Regions from separate parts of the Homo sapiens genome. Here region 2 is linked to region 1. Evidence: promoter capture Hi-C in 16 types of primary human blood cells and fetal thymus (Javierre and others, 2016). All regions are on one chromosome and are shown on one strand. Each heading gives the region's core, a stretch centred on a gene start or on the middle of the fragment in contact. The rest is flanking DNA. Distances are from core to core; before and after follow the strand shown.

Region 1 (4,759 bases), core at 511-3,010:
ACACAGCAATCCTAACGTGAACACAGAACCTGCTTTATCTTTTCGCACACTGTTCTAGTGTAGAGATGTCTGGTCTCAGTTAAAGAAAGCATAAGGAGCATTAGTTGTGCACACTGTCCACACCTGTGACTTTTTTCCACCAGTACTAAACCTAGTGCTTCTTACAGTACAGGACAATGACAGCCACAGAAAGAGAGAAGCTCCTTTTACTGTGTAATGCTTCCTGCTGGCCTTCAAATACTTGTTACTTGAGAGATCTCCATTCACCTGGCTTTGTCCCCAAAGGTCATCATCTACCAATGATGTTGTTATTTGATGTTAATCATGTATAAAGAAAGTAGCTACCATCCTGGCCCTGATTAGAACTTCCCACTGAAATACCGTCCTGCCTAAAGGTAGCACAGGCTCCCATTATGGTGGTGGTGGGGAGGGGGCGGGAATATATATATATATATATATATATATATATATATATATATGGTAAAGCATTCGGCATTCTTTTAAAGTACAACTATCCTTGAAAAGGGTTACATATTAAACCATTTTTACCACAGCCAAAGGGGAGGAGAAAGATCCAAAAGTCCTGTGGATCTGCTTTAACATCAATAAAACAGTTATCCACCCTTCGTAGCTTTTAGTGAAGGCTACAAAAGTATGCTTTTTATGGATTACACATGTGCACGCAACTACTTTAATTACTACAGAAAAAAACGAGGCTCCTTATTAAAAAAAAATCAGAAACAAGTCCAACAGACTCTGAGGAAATGAAGCAAGAGTGAATTCTGAAAAGGTCTAATAAACAGTATGGAAATATCCTTGTGGGATTGTTCTTCAGCTATGCATAAACATGTAATTATCATCATTACTGTGATGGGGAAAAACACGGACCCTAATTCTGAAACACCCTGGTAGCGAGAGACGGGCAGGAGGGGCTGCTGCGCACTCAGAGCGGAGGCTGAGGAGGCGGCGTCCCCTTGCAAAGGACTGGCAGTGAGCAGATGGGGACACTCGAGCTGCCCCGCGACCTGGGCCGAGCTGCCTACAACCTGGGCCCAGGTGCCTGCAAGAATTAGACCTCCGATAACGTTAACACCCACTTTCTCACTGCTCTAATTGTGTGCATCCCGGCGCCCAGGGGCTTGTGAGCAGCAGGTGCGCGTTCCAGGCAGCTCCAGCGACCCTTAAACCTGACCGCGCGCACGTCCGGCCCGAGGGAGCAGAACAAGAGGCACCCGGACCCTCCTCCGGCCAGCACCCACCTTCACCCAGTTCCGTCAGTCGCCACCACCTCCCTTCCCGCGTCCGCAGCCGGCCCAGCTGGGGAGCATGCGCAGTGGCCGGAGCCGGGTTGCCCGCGCCCCAGCAGGTAGCTGTACTGCAACTGTCGGCCCAAACCAACCAATCAAGAGACGTGTTATTGCCGCCGAGGTGGAACTATGGCAACGGGCGACCAATCAGAAGGCGCGTTGTTGCCGCGGAGCCCCCTGCCCCGGCAGGGGGATGTGGCGATGGGTGAGGGTCATGGGGTGTGAGCATCCCTGAGCCATCGATCCGGGAGGGCCGCGGGTTCCCTTGCTTTGCCGCCGGGAGCGGCGCACGCAGCCCCGCACTCGCCTACCCGGCCCCGGGCGGCGGCGCGGCCCATGCGGCTGGGGGCGGAGGCTGGGAGCGGGTGGCGGGCGCGGCGGCCCGGGCCCGGGCGGTGATTGGCCGCCTGCTGGCCGCGACTGAGGCCCGGGAGGCGGGCGGGGAGCGCAGGCGGAGCTCGCTGCCGCCGAGCTGAGAAGATGCTGCTGTCCCTGGTGCTCCACACGTACTCCATGCGCTACCTGCTGCCCAGCGTCGTGCTCCTGGGCACGGCGCCCACCTACGTGTTGGCCTGGGGGGTCTGGCGGCTGCTCTCCGCCTTCCTGCCCGCCCGCTTCTACCAAGCGCTGGACGACCGGCTCTACTGCGTCTACCAGAGCATGGTGCTCTTCTTCTTCGAGAATTACACCGGGGTCCAGGTGAGCCGCCTCCCGCTCCCGGGTCTCGGCGTCCACCCGAGCTCCCGGGGGCGCGGACCTCTCCGCTCCCCCACAGCTGGCGAGGGTCACCCGGCCGGCCCGGCGGACCCAGCACGGAGAGCACGTGCCGCCTCCCCGCCTTCCTCTCCGCATGCTTCCTGCCGTTCTGCCGAGATCGCTCTCTAGGAAGCTGTGGCTGCGTCGTCCTGAGGCTACGAGTGGGACCCGCCGCCCCTTTCCCCGCCCCTCGCCTGGGTCTGATGCTGCTTAGCAAAGTGGGTGCAGATGCACGTTTTAAATAATAGGGCACGCGTTTAGCAGTTTCTGGCCTTTGGTCCAAAGAGGTGGTCATGTTGGAACAGATCGGAGACGTCTACACTCCGAAGTGCGCTTTTACAGTGACCTCTTGAAACAGAAGTACAATTCGGTCTTGTGTTCTTTCCCCTGGACAAGTGAAAGCTGGGCGAAGAAATGAATACATTTGTTAACCGTAGAAGCCTAACTAGATACATTTCTTGCCAACTTTAACTGGGCTTGAATGTGTGGGTGATCTGTTGTCTGATTACTTTCTTTCTGTTACTGTTTCTCTGTAGAGATTGGATTCGTAGATTAAACTTGAGAAACAAACCATAAAAGTGGAAGGCCCTCTTTAACAGTAGGTATTTGAAGTGTTATAAAAAAAAAAAAAAGGTGAATTTTTCTTTTATTTCTCAGTTTGAAAGAACAGCTTTATTCTTGGTTATTCCTAATGTCCACCTAGTCCTCTTTTACTTTTCTTGGTAGGGTTAGGGTGGCATGGGGAAATGGGACGGTATCATTTTGTCTTTTTAACTTTTTTTTTTTCCACCTACAGCAGCTGTTTTTACCCTGTGGTCAGTCAGGTACTATATTTAGTTTGCAGTTGCACTGCTGATCGACCCTTGATGGCCCCAGTTGGAAGTTGTTTGGGGGGAAGGAACTAGGAGAGGCCAGGGCCTCCATTTAAACCAGTGTCTGTAAGTGTCTCCTTGGAAAGAAAAAAAGATACTGTTCCAGGTCATGGTTTCCTGGTAGTTGACGTTTAAAATGGGCCTCATTTAAAAATTTCAATAATTCAGGCTAATTTTTTCCCTTTATATGGTAACTCCACCAAGTTTGTCTAAATGTATGATTTTTATCATGATTAAGTTTTTACTTCCACATCATGTGACAACTGGCCTGGGATGGGATATAAGCTCAGAACACAAAGTCATTCACCTCTTAAAAAAATAATTCTATCTGTGGCGGGTTATGTTATTTTTGTTCAAAGAGGACACAATATGATGCAGAATACACCATTGAAGGATTTTTTGGTTTGGCAAGTTCTTATTTTTTTAAATGGCTGTAAAACCTAGCAGTGTTTCTGAAATTGCATACCTTACCTGATGTTCAGAGATCCGATTTACTTCTTGATTTCCCAGCAAGTGATTTTGAAAACATTTAATCTAATCATTCCCCCCACCGTCTGTTCAAATCAAAGGAAGTGGCATCCAGCACTAATTTTCATGCATTTATGAAAGGATGCCTGAGGACCCTTAAGTATAATTCAAAATTTTGTTTAATGTGTGTTCCTTGATGAAGTTCTTTAGGAGTCGTAGAACGAACTGATTGCCCACTGATCATCAAATGCAAGTTATGAACATTTAATAAAAATTTAAAACCAAGAGTTTCTTGTTCCTGCATTTTTATTTTTATTGTATGGAGGGGACAAATAATTATTTTCTGTTTAGTAACAGAGCAGGGTATTTTGAATTTATTAGGGTCTTTTTCTGCAATCTGGGTTTCCTGTGTACACAAAGCTACCTTTCAATATTTTTTATTGTTTCTGTTAAGATTAAATCAATAGAGGAATAAATAGCTATCTTCAAACATAAGACCCAAAGGAAAAAGATTTATAGTGATGTTCTGTCACCTTATTTTTTACCTGTGACTTTGTACCATTAACTTTGTCACTGAGATGTTTTGATTAAAATTTTTAGCTTGCTTTTCTTGTTTTGTTAGGACACTCTTTTTTTCTTGAATTGTTTTTATCAGCTTTCGTTTGCAAGGCTAGTGATGATTCTCTTGTTCTGTATAAAGTATTGTTGACTCATTTCTGAAGGGAGTTTTAGTAATTTAAGAGGTTATAAGTTTTTAAATAAAAGGTTTATTAATTTATATATATTAAAGAGGCATTTTAAAATAAAATTTTTTTTAAATGACATTTTTACACCTTTCAACTCTAGGTTTAAAAAATAAGTGGTTCACAGTAGTTCTTGCAGAAGAATATTTTCTTTTACATAGAATTTTTAAGCTGAAGAGAAGTAGTAGTAGGTCCATGAGATTTATGATCTGTGCTTGGCAGGTAAACCTGCTTCCAACAAATTTAGTTGGATTTTTCTTGGATTCTGGGTAAATACCTTTTTCTTCCCCAATTTCACTACTTTATTTTCATATGTATCTCTGAGATAGAGAAATATTTCAGTCAGTGCTGCTAAAATTGTTCCTTATAACTCGTTTATCCTTTTAGGTCCTTCCAGAATCTCTCATTGGTACTGAAACTCAAATGGGTACTTTCTTCACCATTTATTTCTTTAGAATAAGTAATAAGAATTTTATAAGCTTTTTTATATTTCACGTAATTTGAGACTATTGAAAATCCAGTTAAGTCTCTCTACTGTGTTGAGAGGCATTGATTCAAGTACCTGTGTTACTTTCCTGTGCTGCCAAAACAGATCACCTCAAACTAAGCGGCT
Region 2 (4,234 bases), core at 633-3,132, 270 kb before region 1:
ATAGATGAACTTCTTCAGTCTTACCTGATTATAGGTGAACAAGTGTTCAGCAGTCTCTGGACTCCCTGTGACATGCTAAAATCAAGTGTTTATTGTAAAAACACATCAGTAGTACATACATATTTTCTTTGTAAAACATTTAGTAAACACAGACATCTCTTTGATTGCCCTCCCTCAATGTAAGCAGCTTTCAATTTGATGAGTATCCTAGGTGGCATTTCTTCAGTACATTACACACATGTACACACTCACACATGCATGCTTGACGTGAAGGGGCTCTGCTATCTTATGTGTATCATTTGGTGAGTTGCCTTCTCTTCCCCAATTAACAATATGGTTTTGACCATTTCATGTCGGTAGCTTTGACTCTACTCAGTTTTCTGTATTGCATTATACATTGTGACTGTTTTTCCGGTATTCATGTACTTTTAGTCACTGTCAGTTTTTGCTAAGTATATTACTTAAGCCACATATTTGAGTTTATTTCTCCAAGTCAGATATCTAGAGATAAAATTACTGGGTAAGAATACATACACATTTTGATTTTACCAGCTCCACCAATCATATACAAGATGACCTATTTCTTGGCCAGATACAGTGGCTCACACCTGTAATCCCAGCACTTCAGAAGGCCAAGGCGGGCAAATCAGTTGAGGCCAGGAGTTTGAGAGCAGCCTGGCCAACATGGCGAAACCCCATCTCTACTAAAAATACAAAAATTAGCCCAACCTGGTGGTGCACACCTGTAATCCCAGCTACTCAGGAGGCTGAGGCAGGAGAATTGCTTGAACCCAGGAGGTGGAGGTTGCAGTGAGCCCAGATCATGCCACTGCACTCCAGCCTGGGCGACAGCAAGGCTCTGTCTCAAAAAAAAAAAAAAAAAAAAAAAAACCTATTTCGTGATACTCTGACCAATATTGGATGTTACTAATCTTTTTAATTTTTCCTAATCTGAAGCATTAATGATTGCTTGTACACTTTACCACTTTAATTTTCATGTCTAAAAACCTTCCCTTTCCTTCTCTTTTCCAAATGTAATTGCAAATTAAACCCGACTCAAGGCCTTATTCTTTTGGGTCCTTGAGATGGTTCTGTGCCTCTGTCTCCCCCCTCACCCTGTCTGCTGCCTGCCTGCCCAGCTTGCTGTTCCTCAAGCATGCCAATCGTATTTCTATTTCAGAGCCATTGCGTTATCTGTTCCCTCTGTCTGGAACATTCTTCCCCCAAAATCCTTACACATGACCCGTTTTCCAGCCTCCCTATGGCTTTGTGCAGATGTTACTTTCTCTGTGAGACCTATCCTGCCACCCGTTTATACCAGCAGTTCCTTCCCACTTGTGCCAACTATGCAAGTCTCTTTTCATCTGCAGTGCTGACTGGCTCCTCCTAACACACTGTAGTAATGTGGGCAGTTTGATGGAATACAGTTGCTAGAGAAGATTCACAGGACCCCAAAATAACAATGTGTCCAACCTGCACCGTACCTGAGAACCAGGAAGCGCAAGATGGAGTGTCTTCTTGTATACTGCTGACCCTGAGTCTATATGAACCAGCCCCACTGGCAGAGCCTCCAGGCAAATCCTTCATCTCACTACTCATAAACAATGTTGACAGGCCAGCACAATCTGTCCCCAAACTTCCCGGACCTGTGGCTATAAAGCACCACTGTCTAATTAGTACATTTTGTGTCATGCAGGTACTTTAGTGAAAGCAGTGCAGGCCGGTTCCAAGCCTGTTGAAATGAACCTCCCAAGACACATACAATTTACTTATTTATTATGTTTATTTGCTGTCATTCCTTACCAGCATACAAGCTCCATGATGACAAGGATCTTTCTAGGTTGCAAGACCAGCGCCTGACATAAAGTCATGTTTTTTGTCAATAAATGAGTGAATAACTAACAGAGCAAGATCCCCAGTATAGGCATTAGCCTTGAGTAGCTAAAAGAAGTTCTTTCTATGAGACTGGAGCAAAAGAAGTTAGCGTTTACGTGGGTAGCTAGCTACCCATGTAAGCAAATTTGGGCTGGTAGCTTCGCGCTGAAAACGAAGGAACCTAGACAGATGACTTAAATTTCCCTGGGGTCCTATAAGAAAGAAGTCAGGCATAAAAGTGTTATAGGTAAAATCGATGTGAAGTTCAGTATGTGTATTTGTGCTGATGGCTGGGCTAAAGACGGGAAGTCAATGGGCAGTTCCAAGAACAGAAAGTGGGGTGGGTAAGGCTGGGAACGTGAGGTGTGTTTCAAAGGAAACATTTCCCCTGTCTGAGGATGGTTAAGAGTAGAGTTAACCCAAGACCTTCCTGTGGATATCAGCCTGGGGTTTCATGTGTTTGTGAGTGTAGTTACAGTTTTTGGGTTTTACTGGCTGATTGGAGTTACTGTGATTTAATGACGGTAGGGCAAGCATAATCATGGTTCTTTTCTTTGGTAATTATAAAATAGAAATTGTTTTATTACTGTGTTGTGGTCTTGCAGGGAGGATGACGTGAGAATAGTGCTACCAAGCAGGCAGTGGGCGTGCTGCCAACCCACATAGAGTCCAAGATCATGCCACTTGTTTTGAGAAAAGAAAGGCTTTATTGCAAGTTGCCTGGCAAGGAGACAGGAGGAAACTCTCAAATCCGCCTCCCTGAGGTGGGGGCTCAGGCAGTTTCATAGGCAGAGAAAACAAAGTGTGATCTGATTGGATCTTGCAATGGGGTGATGCTGGGAGGTGTCATCTGACTGGGTTGTGTCACAAGGTGATGCCAGGGCTCAATCTGATTGGATCATGGATTATGCCATCAGGTGTTTACTCCTTAATTTGGCCCCCGTTCCTTGGTCTAAGTGCTTAGGTTCTGCCCGTGGTTACATGCTTGGTTCACCTGGGCATGCTCAAGTGACGTAACTTGCAACTTCAGGGGCCGTGGCAATTAAACAGTTCACCATTTTGATACACAAAGTTGAACTAGATTGGGCTGGTTTGGTGGTAAGAACAGCAAAAAATCGAAAGAGACTGGCTAAAAACTTTCATGGAAACTAAGAATGCTAGGATCATGAAAATGTCTCACAAAGCATAATACAGAGCCTTTTATACAGTCTTTTAAATTCTGTCCATTTTCTTTATAACTGCACAAAAAAATAAATATTGCCAGTTCACATACAGTGCAAGAAACACCTCTTTTAGAATTTTTTATTACTGATGTTATAAAAGGTATCAGAAATGTATGCGAAAGGGCTTTTTCTCCTGCCTTAAGCAGTTGCAGTACAGCATTAATTTTTGTGTTCTTTTTGCACAGCGTAAATGTATGCAGCCCAAAGATTTTAATTTTAAAACACCAGAAAATGATAAGAGATTTCAGAAGAAATTTGAGAAAATGGCTAAAGAGCTACAAAGGCAAAAAACAAATCTAGGTAAGCTAAGAAATATAATACAGTTCTTTGCATTTGTGTCCATACACCTTGTTTAATTTGCATGATGACTAGTGGGGTTCAGCATGAGAGAGCTGATGAAGACTATGATAGCTTTACTCTATGAAGGAGAAAACAAAATGTCAGGAGCCTGCGGGAGACTTGGCTGGGAGCCATAATAGAGCCACGCAGCTTGAGCTAATCGACCACAGTCTTAACCATTCATCAAGGTGGTCGAACTTTTTATTTTCGGGAATGATTTCAGAAGAAAAGCAAACTTTGGCTAATAAGCATTATTGAAATAAATACCTATTTATTTCTTCTTTATATATAACTTTGTATTTTTACCTAATTGGCATTTTTGTTTTGTTACCCTGAATAGGCAAATCTTAGATGATACATTATTTTAGTGATTTGGGAAAATACTTTAGAATATTATGTTCTATAACAAGATGTCTTAGAAAAAAATATATGTATTCTTATGTATATATATTGTTAAATAATATTTTTATATATAAGAATATTATGGGCTGGGCACAGTGGCTCACGCCTGTAATCCCAGCACTTTGGGAGGCAGAGGCGGGCGGATCACGAGGTCAGGAGATAGAGACCATCCTGGCTAACATGTTGAAACCCTGTCTCTACTAAAAATACAAAAAAATTAGCTGGGAGTGGTGGCAGGCGCCTGTAGTCCCAGCTACTTGGGAGGCTGAGGCAGGAGAATGGGGTGAACCTGGGAGGCAGAGCTTGCAGTGAGCCGAGACTGCACCACTGCACTCCAGCCTGGGCAACAGAGTGAGACTCCAACTCAAAAAAAAAAGAATATTATGAAACATTAA

What was found. The method cuts DNA at HindIII sites, captures the fragments that hold promoters and counts their contacts. A CHiCAGO score of 5 or more calls a contact.
Region 2: a contact is called between a fragment that was not itself captured here and the fragment with the promoter of AGPAT5 in region 1, in 17 of 17 cell types (total B cells, naive B cells, erythroblasts and 14 more). The highest score is 35.2, in total B cells.

The regions. Positions count from the first base shown.
Region 1 is chr8:6,706,882-6,711,640 of GRCh38, forward strand. AGPAT5 (1-acylglycerol-3-phosphate O-acyltransferase 5) reads left to right here and starts at 1,761. Exons shown (of 8, transcript NM_018361.5): 1 at 1,761-2,006. The coding sequence starts at 1,788. It overlaps MCPH1-AS1 (MCPH1 antisense RNA 1), which reads right to left and starts at 1,328. Exons shown (of 5, transcript NR_125386.1): 1 at 1,260-1,328. RefSeq lists silencers at 1,515-1,854, 1,915-2,154. The HindIII fragment of the contact is 5,238 bases long and covers 1-4,623 here.
Region 2 is chr8:6,432,765-6,436,998 of GRCh38, forward strand. MCPH1 (microcephalin 1) reads left to right here. Exons shown (of 14, transcript NM_024596.5): 5 at 3,284-3,398. Among named protein-coding and RNA genes, the nearest start is that of MCPH1, 28 kb to the left of the region's middle. The HindIII fragment of the contact is 9,018 bases long and covers 1-4,234 here.